2 separate regions of the Homo sapiens genome follow, and region 2 is linked to region 1. Evidence: promoter capture Hi-C in 16 types of primary human blood cells and fetal thymus (Javierre and others, 2016). All regions are on one chromosome and are shown on one strand. The core of a region is centred on a gene start or on the middle of the fragment in contact, and the rest is flanking DNA. Distances in the headings are between cores, read along the strand shown. Region 1 holds the start of RYK (receptor like tyrosine kinase). Region 2 overlaps DBR1 (debranching RNA lariats 1).

Evidence for each region. Contacts are between HindIII fragments. The CHiCAGO score rates a contact against its expected background, and 5 or more counts as called.
Region 2: a contact is called between a fragment that was not itself captured here and the fragment with the promoter of RYK in region 1, in 1 of 17 cell types (total CD4 T cells). The highest score is 6.7, in total CD4 T cells.

Annotation. Positions count from the first base shown.
Region 1 is chr3:134,247,777-134,252,543 of GRCh38, forward strand. RYK (receptor like tyrosine kinase) reads right to left here and starts at 3,083. Exons shown (of 15, transcript NM_002958.4): 1 at 2,647-3,083. The coding sequence starts at 2,878. RefSeq lists an enhancer at 2,324-3,102 and a silencer at 2,438-3,257. The HindIII fragment of the contact is 6,752 bases long and covers 1-4,574 here.
Region 2 is chr3:138,166,312-138,170,721 of GRCh38, forward strand. It overlaps DBR1 (debranching RNA lariats 1), which reads right to left. Exons shown (of 8, transcript NM_016216.4): 4 at 3,796-3,881; 5 at 770-994. Among named protein-coding and RNA genes, the nearest start is that of DBR1, 6.4 kb to the right of the region's middle. The HindIII fragment of the contact is 4,308 bases long and covers 350-4,410 here.

The DNA.
Region 1 (4,767 bases), core at 1,833-4,332:
ATATCAAGGGTAATTAGTTCAATTTATAAAGTTGTCACTATCAACTTCATTTATAAGTTTCTTACTTGGAACTCTAAACTGTCTTAAAAATATTATAAAATAATGGTTCGTTTCCTATGCCAGCGTTCAGAAGGCACAAAATCTGTAGTGATTCTAAAATACGGTGCAAAGCTACTATTCCAAGAAGCCTTAAGTACCATAACAGCTTCTGTGAGAGACTGCATTCTGAGAATTCGGAGTGCCTTGTACACATCTCAGTACACATCTCAGTCCTACCCACTTGGCTCTTCCCTACCTGGAGGAGCCAAGGAATTATTTTAAAGGTAGAATGTATGAGGGAGATGGGAAGGGATGGAAACAACGAACCTGAATCTGGCAGGATGGAGTGACTAGAGATCCTCTGTAACAGGTCAACCCTATTTGCACTAGAGAAAATACTACTAGAAGTCTCTCTCGCCCCCGGGGATAGACAAGGGAGTTAATTGAAACAATGCTTCCTACCCTCCCAGCAACAGCATTTCTGGGCATAAATTGGATGCTCATCAAACAGGAGCTTCCTCTGCTGCAAATACTGCTAAGAAAATTAGTTCCAGGCCAACCTTTGAATAAGGTAACAAATATATAACTCAAGTGCTAATTAGCAATGATTTATTTTCCACCATGACATAATCAAACTTCTACAGACAAAATCTTCATTTCATTCGATAAAACTTTGCAGCCTATGTCAACACTGTTTCATTTTTTTCAAAAATATGAACTAGGCCAGGTGCGGTGGCTCACACCTGTAATCCCAGCACTTTGGGAGGCCGAGGCGGGCAGATCACGAGCTCAGGAGTTCAAGACCAGCCTGACCAACATGGTGAAACCCTGTCTCTACTAAAAATACAAAAAATAGCCAGAAGTGGTCGCTACTTGGGAGGCTGAGGCAGGTGAATCACCTGAACCCAGGAAGCAGAGATTGCAGTGAGCCGAGATCACGCCACTGCACTCCAGCCTGGGTGACAAGAGCGAGACTCCGTCTAAAAAAAAATTAACTGTGTGACCTTGAGCAAGTTACTTTAAAACCCCACTTTCCTCATCTCTACAATAGGCATAATGCCACCTACCTCACTGGGCCCCGAGAAAATTAGAAGAAATTATGTGTATAAAGCATGTAGGGGCAGGTATATGGCAGGAATTCAATGTCAGTCCCTGGTTGTCTTCTGTCTCCTACCTACACCTCTGACTTTGTTTACCCATGTAAACAAAGTCACAAGCTATATAAGTGCTTTTAACCAAAAAGCCTTTACAAAACCATGCATAATACGTTAATATTTCTAAAATTAATGTGATATGAGTCGTCTTGTATTATTTTTCCTAAATCTTAGTCTTGTGTTCCAAGTACTACCCCAAGTAGAGTTTTAATTCAGCTAAACTACATTCAGCTAACTCAGCTAGACTAAGAAGGATTAAGAATGAGCACGACTTCATAAAAAGAGCATTCTTCTTTGGCTAAAAACTGCAAATCCGTACATGTAATGTCTAAAGAGTCTGCTTTCAGTAATTCCATTTCTACACTGAGTCAATCTCAACACACCTCAACAAAGTCTTATTACTTAAAAAAAAATAGAATACTGACAAATAATGGATGCAATAGAGAATAATTTTTCCCCTCAAACACTCAGAAGCACCACCTTCAGATGAAATAAAGATACTGCCATAATAACAAAAGAATGCAAACGTCTAGGTACCAAGGACTTCCTTTTTGGGGGGTCGTTCCTGTCAGATCTTCCTCTAAGGGGTCATTTCCAGAATCCACAAAGTCCTAACATAAGACCCCAGCAATTTTTCAAATTAATTCCCCAAACAACAAAGCTAAGCAAGTAAATGGAACCACAAACCGACCCAAGACTAAGTTCTTGTTTCCCTTCAAGATACTCAAAAGTAGGAGAGTGGCCCAGAAGTACAGAGTCAGTCCAAACTCCCAACACACCCAATGCAAAAACCAAAAAGGTATTGAAACTAAAAAGGTCTGCTACCTGGCGATTCATTCACTAAAAATATGCTTAGAATCTAAGCATATGCTCCAAATCTACGTCCCAAGAGTTGGAGGCTGCCACGAACATTTGGTGCCCTTATAACCTCCCCTTCTTTCTCTCTCGTTTTTTTTTTTTTTTTTTTTTTTTTTGTAAAAGGGTAAGCACAGAGCGTGGCCTCTACTGGAGCATCAAAACCACAGCAAAGGGTTTGCAAGTTCAGTCTAAAACGTGAATTTCGAGATATTCAAAATCGAGGGCCCTAGAGTGACACACATAGAAAGCGTCAAAAAAACTTCGTGCAGCAAGGAAAAAAAGTTGTAAGGGTGACTGACTCTTCTAGGGAGAAGGGCTAAGGAGGCAGTGAGGAGGATGGGATGGGGTGAATCTGGGTCTATCGCGGCGGGGCAGCGAGGGCGGCACGAAGGCTGACCCAGAGCTGGGGACCGGGCAGGGACCACACCTCCCAGCCAGCACGGCAGGCAGAGACCGGGCCGCGAGGCGAATCCGGGCGCGGGGGGCGGGGAGGGTACTCGCCCGAGGTCCACGGCTCGCAGACTGATCCGCCGGCGGCCGGAAGCTGCCCCAGCCGGCCCGACCTGCCCGCCCCGGCCTCGGCGGCCCCACTCACCGATCAGCCGGCGCACCTCGTCCTCGCTCAGGTAGAGACTCACGCTGGGCCCCGCGGAAGCCGACTGCAGCTCCGGGGGCCGCGGGGCGGGGGCGGCGGCAGCGCCAGGCGCGGGCAGCAGCGGCAACAGCGCAAGCAGAAGCAGCAGCGGCGGCGGCGGCGGGGCCCTCAGGCCGCGGGCCCCCGGGAGGCAACTCCGGCCCGGCCGCCCCAGCCGCGCCGCCCCACGCATGGCCGCCGCCGCCGCCGCCGAAGAGGAGCGTCGGCCGCCCGCCGCACCGCCGCCCACCCCCGGCCCCGAGCCGCTCACAGCCCCGAGCCGGGGGCGGCTGCCCAGCTCATCGCACCGCCGGCCCGTGGCAGCCAGCAGTGGCTTCAGACCTCCGGAGCGCGCCGCCGCCGCCGCCTCCTCGCTGCATCGTCCGGAGTTGGGGGCTGCCCGCGGGACGCGCCCGTGCGCGCCGCCGCCTCCCCGGGAGCGCGCACGCACCTTTCGCTCTGGGCGGGCCGGCCTGGGCAACGCGCTGGGGTTTTAAAGTGCCTCGGCGGGCGAAGGGCTCGGGTCACCCTCTCCGCAAGAGCCGGTCCCCGCCCCACGCGGTCACTGCGTCTAATGTTTGCTTGTCTATTGTCTGTAACCCTCCTTTCCCGACGGACGGGCCAGGCTGGAGCCACCGGCCGCGCCTGCAGCTCAGTGGGCGCCCCAGGTCCCCGGAAACGCCTGGATGCGGCCGTTCTGGTTGCGAAAAAGCAGCATGCTTTCCTGTTTAGTGGGAAAACTCAAATAAATAGAAATCATCCTTTATCTTACCATCGGTGATCAACTTTATCGTTTCCGTATCTATTATTAGAATTTATACTACATATATTTGTTTTCCAGAAAGATCTTAGCACGCTTTACTAACCCTATTTTTACGTTACAAAATTTTATTTATTTTTATATTTTTATTTATTTATTTTGAGACGAAGTCTTGCTCCGTCACCCAAGCTGGAGTGCACTGGCACGATCTCGGCTCACTGCAACCTCTGCCTCCTAGGTTCAAGCCATTCTCCTGCCTCAGCCTCCCGAGTAGCTGGGATTACAGGCGCCCGCAACCATGCCCGACTAATTTTTTTGTATTTTTAGTAGAGACGGGGTTTCACCATGTTGGCCGGGTTGGTCTCGAACTCCTGACCTCACGTGATCAACTGACCTCGGCCTCCCAAAGTGCTGGGATTACAGGTGTAAGCCACCGCGCCCTGCCAAATTGTTATTTTTTTTATAATCGTTCTGCATCACTATAATCAACCTGCCTTTGGGGTTGTTAATCTGTGGTCCATACCAGGCTTCGACAGCCTTCCAATAATATGAAACTGTGTGCAAAAGTGTATGTGTCTCCGTGCGTATTTGTGTCCACGTCCATGTTTCTGTGTGTTGTGTGTATGCTTGATTGCACACAGAGAGGTGGTATGTCATCATTTGTTCTAGGGAGTCCTTGTGCCCTCAAAGAGGTTAAGAACTGCAGATAGACCTCGTGTACTTAAAGGCGGTGGAGCCAGCCAGTGCATGGACTTCCGGGCCTCCTGATGTATTTTTGTGAGCCGCCCACCATCGCGGTCAAACTTGCACCAGTGCCCCCTCTCTTGGTGAGGCTCCAAGGGCCCCTGCCCTGTCCTGGGACACCTCGTCCCTGCGGACAGGCCCCCGTCCTGACCCCAAGGCTCTCGCGGGGCCGTGCCTCGGGGAGCAGCTGCTCTGACAGCTAGGCCTGGCTTCGGGGCACAGTTGCTCCATCGCAGTGAGGCCCTGGGAAGCGGTTATTTTTATCCTCAGGGAAGGGTAGGGAAAAGGAGAGGCTGATAAGGAGGGAAGTGCTGGAACTTGATTTTCTCCCTCCCTAGCAAGATACACGGATTCCATTTAGAGATAGGCTGGCCTCAATTTGTCAAGCTTCAGCGCCTCAGCACAAAATCTTACACCCTTCATCCTGCCGGAGGAGGCTGAGAAGAGGAAGAGGGGAGGAAAAGTGCTCCATCAGAGAAGGCTTTTAAGCCACAAAAGTCAGCAAAAATACTTCTGTTGGGACAGCCACTGCTACCAGGGTTCTGCCAGGAAGGGCTGGAGGCTCAAAACATGTTGTG
Region 2 (4,410 bases), core at 1,254-3,753, 3.9 Mb after region 1:
TCCATCAAGTACATCATCCATGCAGTTAAGCAAAGAAAACTGGGGGTCATCCTGGACTTCTTTCCTCCCTCAGTCACCAAATCGCAATGATTCTCCTTCTAAAATCTCTCTAGAATCTGCTTCATTCTCTGTATTCTCTCTTTGCCTTAGGTTAAAACCTTTTCTTTTACATAAATAGCCTGCTCTGCCTCCCATTTTACATTACTCCAATCCATACACAACAATGCTGTCAAACTAATCGTTCTGAAATGAAAATCTGATTTCATCACTCCCCAAATTTCCCCATCATCTTTGGTTAAAATCATAACTCCAGAGCATGGCCCCTAGAAGGCAGTTATGATCTTGTTCAAGCTTCATCAGTCCCTATGCCTTAGTCCCACAGGAACTACCTACAAGTCCCCAAACACCCCATGCTCTCAGACCTCGAGCCTCTGCACATGCCAGTCCCTCTAAATAAAATACCCTTACAATGTGTTTCTTCCTGGCACTTCAAGACTCAGTTCAGCTATCACCTTTTGAAAACCTTCTCTATCTTCATCTCCCATGTTCCCATCCCACCACAGTCTGGCTTAGGTGCTCCCACTGCCTACGTTTTCTCTCAAACTTATTATACTGTTTTGTAATTGCTTGTCTTTCCCAGAATCATATATTGAGCTACTCACAAGAGGTAAGTTATCTTTTACTTCTTTCTCTAACTTTACAACTGTGTCTGGTCCATAGATGTTCAATAGTGTGTGTTAAATGAAAGAATAAACATTTTGTTTTCTACCTGATGCTGCATCAAGGCGGCAAACTTCACATGAAGGTGGGCAGAAAACCAATAAGTAGGTTTGAGATGCTCTAAAAGCTCTGAGGCAGCTGGACTTCCTAATGTGTTATTTTCCACTTCTTGTCGGAAAAAAGATTTAGTCTTAAGAAGTTGCTTCTTATTTCCATAATGATATATACTTCTTGGCCAATCATGAGACAAGAATATATCTATAGGCTGCTTCAGCTTTCAAAAGAGAAAAAGAGAAAGAAAGAAAACTCTTAAAACAGATTAACCAAAACAATCCCCTCCCTTCTCTCTACCACCATACAACCATTCACCCACTGAGATCTCTAGAATTCTGTATAATTCATTCTAAGGACACTTTAAGAGAGTGATAAAAATACTAGGCAACTCATTCATCTAGGCAAAGAGAAGCTGCATTTTCTCTGCTCATAAATCATTCTTATTTTCAGTGGCAAGGCAAGGCAATGGAGACAGACTCTGATTAGACTGCCAGTCATCTAAGATCTTTAGCACTTAGCTTCTAAAATACACGATAACCATAGTTCTTTTCCTCTTTGGTAAAGAAATTATTATTTTGGGCCGGGCGCGGTGGCTCACGCCTATAATCCCAGCACTTTGGGAGGCTGAGGCAGGTGGATCACCTGAGGTTAGGAGTTCGAAACGAGCCTCACCAACATGGTGAAACCCCATCTCTACTAAAAATACAAAAATTTAGCTGGACGTTGTGGCATCTGTCTGTAATCCCAGCTACTAGGGAGACTGAGGCAGGAGAATCGCTTGAACCCAGGAGGTGGAGGTTGCAATAAGCCGAGATCATGCAATTGCACTCCAGCCTGGGCCACAAGAGTGAAACTCCATCTCAAAAAGAAAAAAAAGAAAAAAGAAATTACTGTTTTGAAGATCCAGAGACACTAGATTTCACGAGACCTCTAACATGACTGATTCAGTAAACCCAAAGATTTACCAGGAAAAAAAAAATTCTAATAGGCTCACATAGTATACACTAAAAAACTGTGTTTACTACATAAATTAGTATTTCATTAAACAACTTAAGGAAACAAAATATACTCCAGACTTTACTTATCCCCAGAACCTTCAAGTAATCTGAAACGAATACTTGAAAAATGAAATTAAAACAACTTAAATACCGGCTGGGCACAGTGGCTCACGCCTGTAATCCCAGCACTTTAGGAGGCCGAGGTGGGTGGATCGCCTGAAGGTCAGGAGTTCGAGACCAGCCTGGCCAACATGGTGAAACCCCATCTTTATTTAAAATACAAAAAATTAGCCGGGCGTGGTGGTGGGCGCCTGTAATCCCAGCTACTCAGGAGGCTGAGGCAGGAGAATCGCTTGAACCCAGGAGGCAGAGGTTGCAGTGAGCCAAGATCGCACTGTTGCACTCCAGCTTGGGCAACAGAAGTGAAACTTTGTCTCAAAAAAAAAAAAAAAAACTTAAATAACTGCTCAAGACAATACAAAATATTAGATATTAGATAGATATGACTAACCACTGAATAACTGGTATGGCCAACAGATGCAACAAAAATTCAAACTAGGGTAATGACTCTAAACTAGAGAAGTCATGGCTGGCTGGGCATGGTGGCTCATGCCTGTAATCCCAGCACTTTCGGAGGCCAAGGCAGAAGGATCGCTTGAGTTCAAGAGTTTGAGACCAGCCTGGGCAACATGGCGAAACTCTGTCTCTAAAAAATATGAAAAAAATTAGCTGGGCGAGGTGATGCATGCCTATAGTCCAAGCTATTCGGGAGGCTGAAGTGGGAGGATCACCCAAGCCTGGCAGATTGAGGCTGCAGTGAGTCAAGCCATGATCATACTACTGCACTCCAGCCTGGGTGACAGAGTGAGACCTTGTCTCAAAAAAAAAAAAGAAGAAAACTCATGGTTGGGAAATGGCATCTAAGTTGGGTCTTAAAGGACTGGTAGGATTTAGATAGGTGAAAGAGAAAATCTATTTAAGGGAACTGTATGCACAGGGCATAAAAGAAACACTTGCAAGAATTGTTAGACTCCTGCAGAGGCTCTAGAGACAGTGTGATGGGCATGAGTGCAGTCAGGCAGGCTCTACCACTAAACTTTGGGAAGTCCTGGGCAGGTTACTTACCTGTCTGAGCCTTGGCTTCTCATCCTTAAAGGGATGAAGTTAAGAGTTACATCTATTTCATAGGGTTTGAGTGGAGATTATATGAAATACCAAGTGTGAAGTCTGTTTAGCCCAGTGTCAGCCATGTAATGGGTTCTCAAACAACCTAGTTTCACCTACTCTGCAATTAAGCAGTGTTTCCATACCACCTTCACAATTTTCCCATTTCCTCTATCATCTTTACTATTACTTATTTTCTATTTAATACCATTACTTAATTACTATTACATAAAATAAAATGTTTATTTCAATATTTTCTTTAAAATATCACTTTAACATTTTATTTTAAATATCACTTTAATAGGTATTCTTTAGCCTTAACCTAAGTAATATTTGAAATCATGAATTAAATCTTTCATTCTTACTAAAATAAACTCGTAATTATTGAAGTAAAAAAAATTTTGCCGGGCACAGTGGCTCACACCTATAATCCCAGCACTTTGGGAGGCCAAGGCAGGCGGATCACCTGAGGTCAGGAATTTGAGACCAGCCTGGCAAACATGGTGAAACCCCATCCCTACTACAAATACAAAAAATTAGGCAGGTGTGGTGGTGTGCGCCCATAGTTCCAGCTACTCAGAAGGTTGAGGCACAAGACTTGCTTGAACCCAGGAGGCGGAGGTTGCAGTGAGCCGAGATCGCGCCACTGCACTTCAGCCTGGGTGACATAGTGAGACTCTGTCTCAAAAAAAGAAAAAAAAAAGGTTCATCTGTGAACCTCCTAAAAACTCAAGATCCACATTTTAAAAATACAGAATTGCTCTTCTTGAAAGTAGTATACCAATATGACCAAAATACATTTTGGCACAGAATTACTTTAAAATGTTTTCAAGTCTGCTGTAATGCGCTTTTTACGTACCTGTTTTAATTTATAGACTTCAATATTTCTCACATGATATATACTCCTGATTGTAGATGAATTATAAGGGGGGCACTCAAAATGACCTTAGATTGAAGCAGAAAAATAAGCTATATTTAATTTCCTTAAATACTGCAAATACAAAGACATATACACAGGTCTCCAAAATATCATGTACACCTTCAATATATACGATTTTAAAAAGTTATCTAGGGAAATTTTTTAAAAAGATGGTGGACTGCAGTCTCCTTCCTTTGCAGGCTCAAATAAGGGTGTATCTGCTTTCTAAGGTCCCACACATGGTTGCTGGCACACTTCAGTTACTTTCTAACTGTTGACTAGAGACTAGTTCCTTATGCTCCCAATATTAATAAAATAACAAATTATTGTTGTTTTAAGCCGAAAAAGAAATATGTGTATTATATGCATAAATGATATCCCTGAGATAAAATAGAAAAACCTGATAAACAGCTTCCCAAAAGTGGTTCCAATTTGTACCCACACCTGCCACAGAGAAGACAGCCTATTTTGTACCTCCATTCCAACAGTTTAGAATAAGAAAGAGCCAAGTGGCAGGGAACAGACTTGTAACAGTTACATTCAGGATGTAAGTTT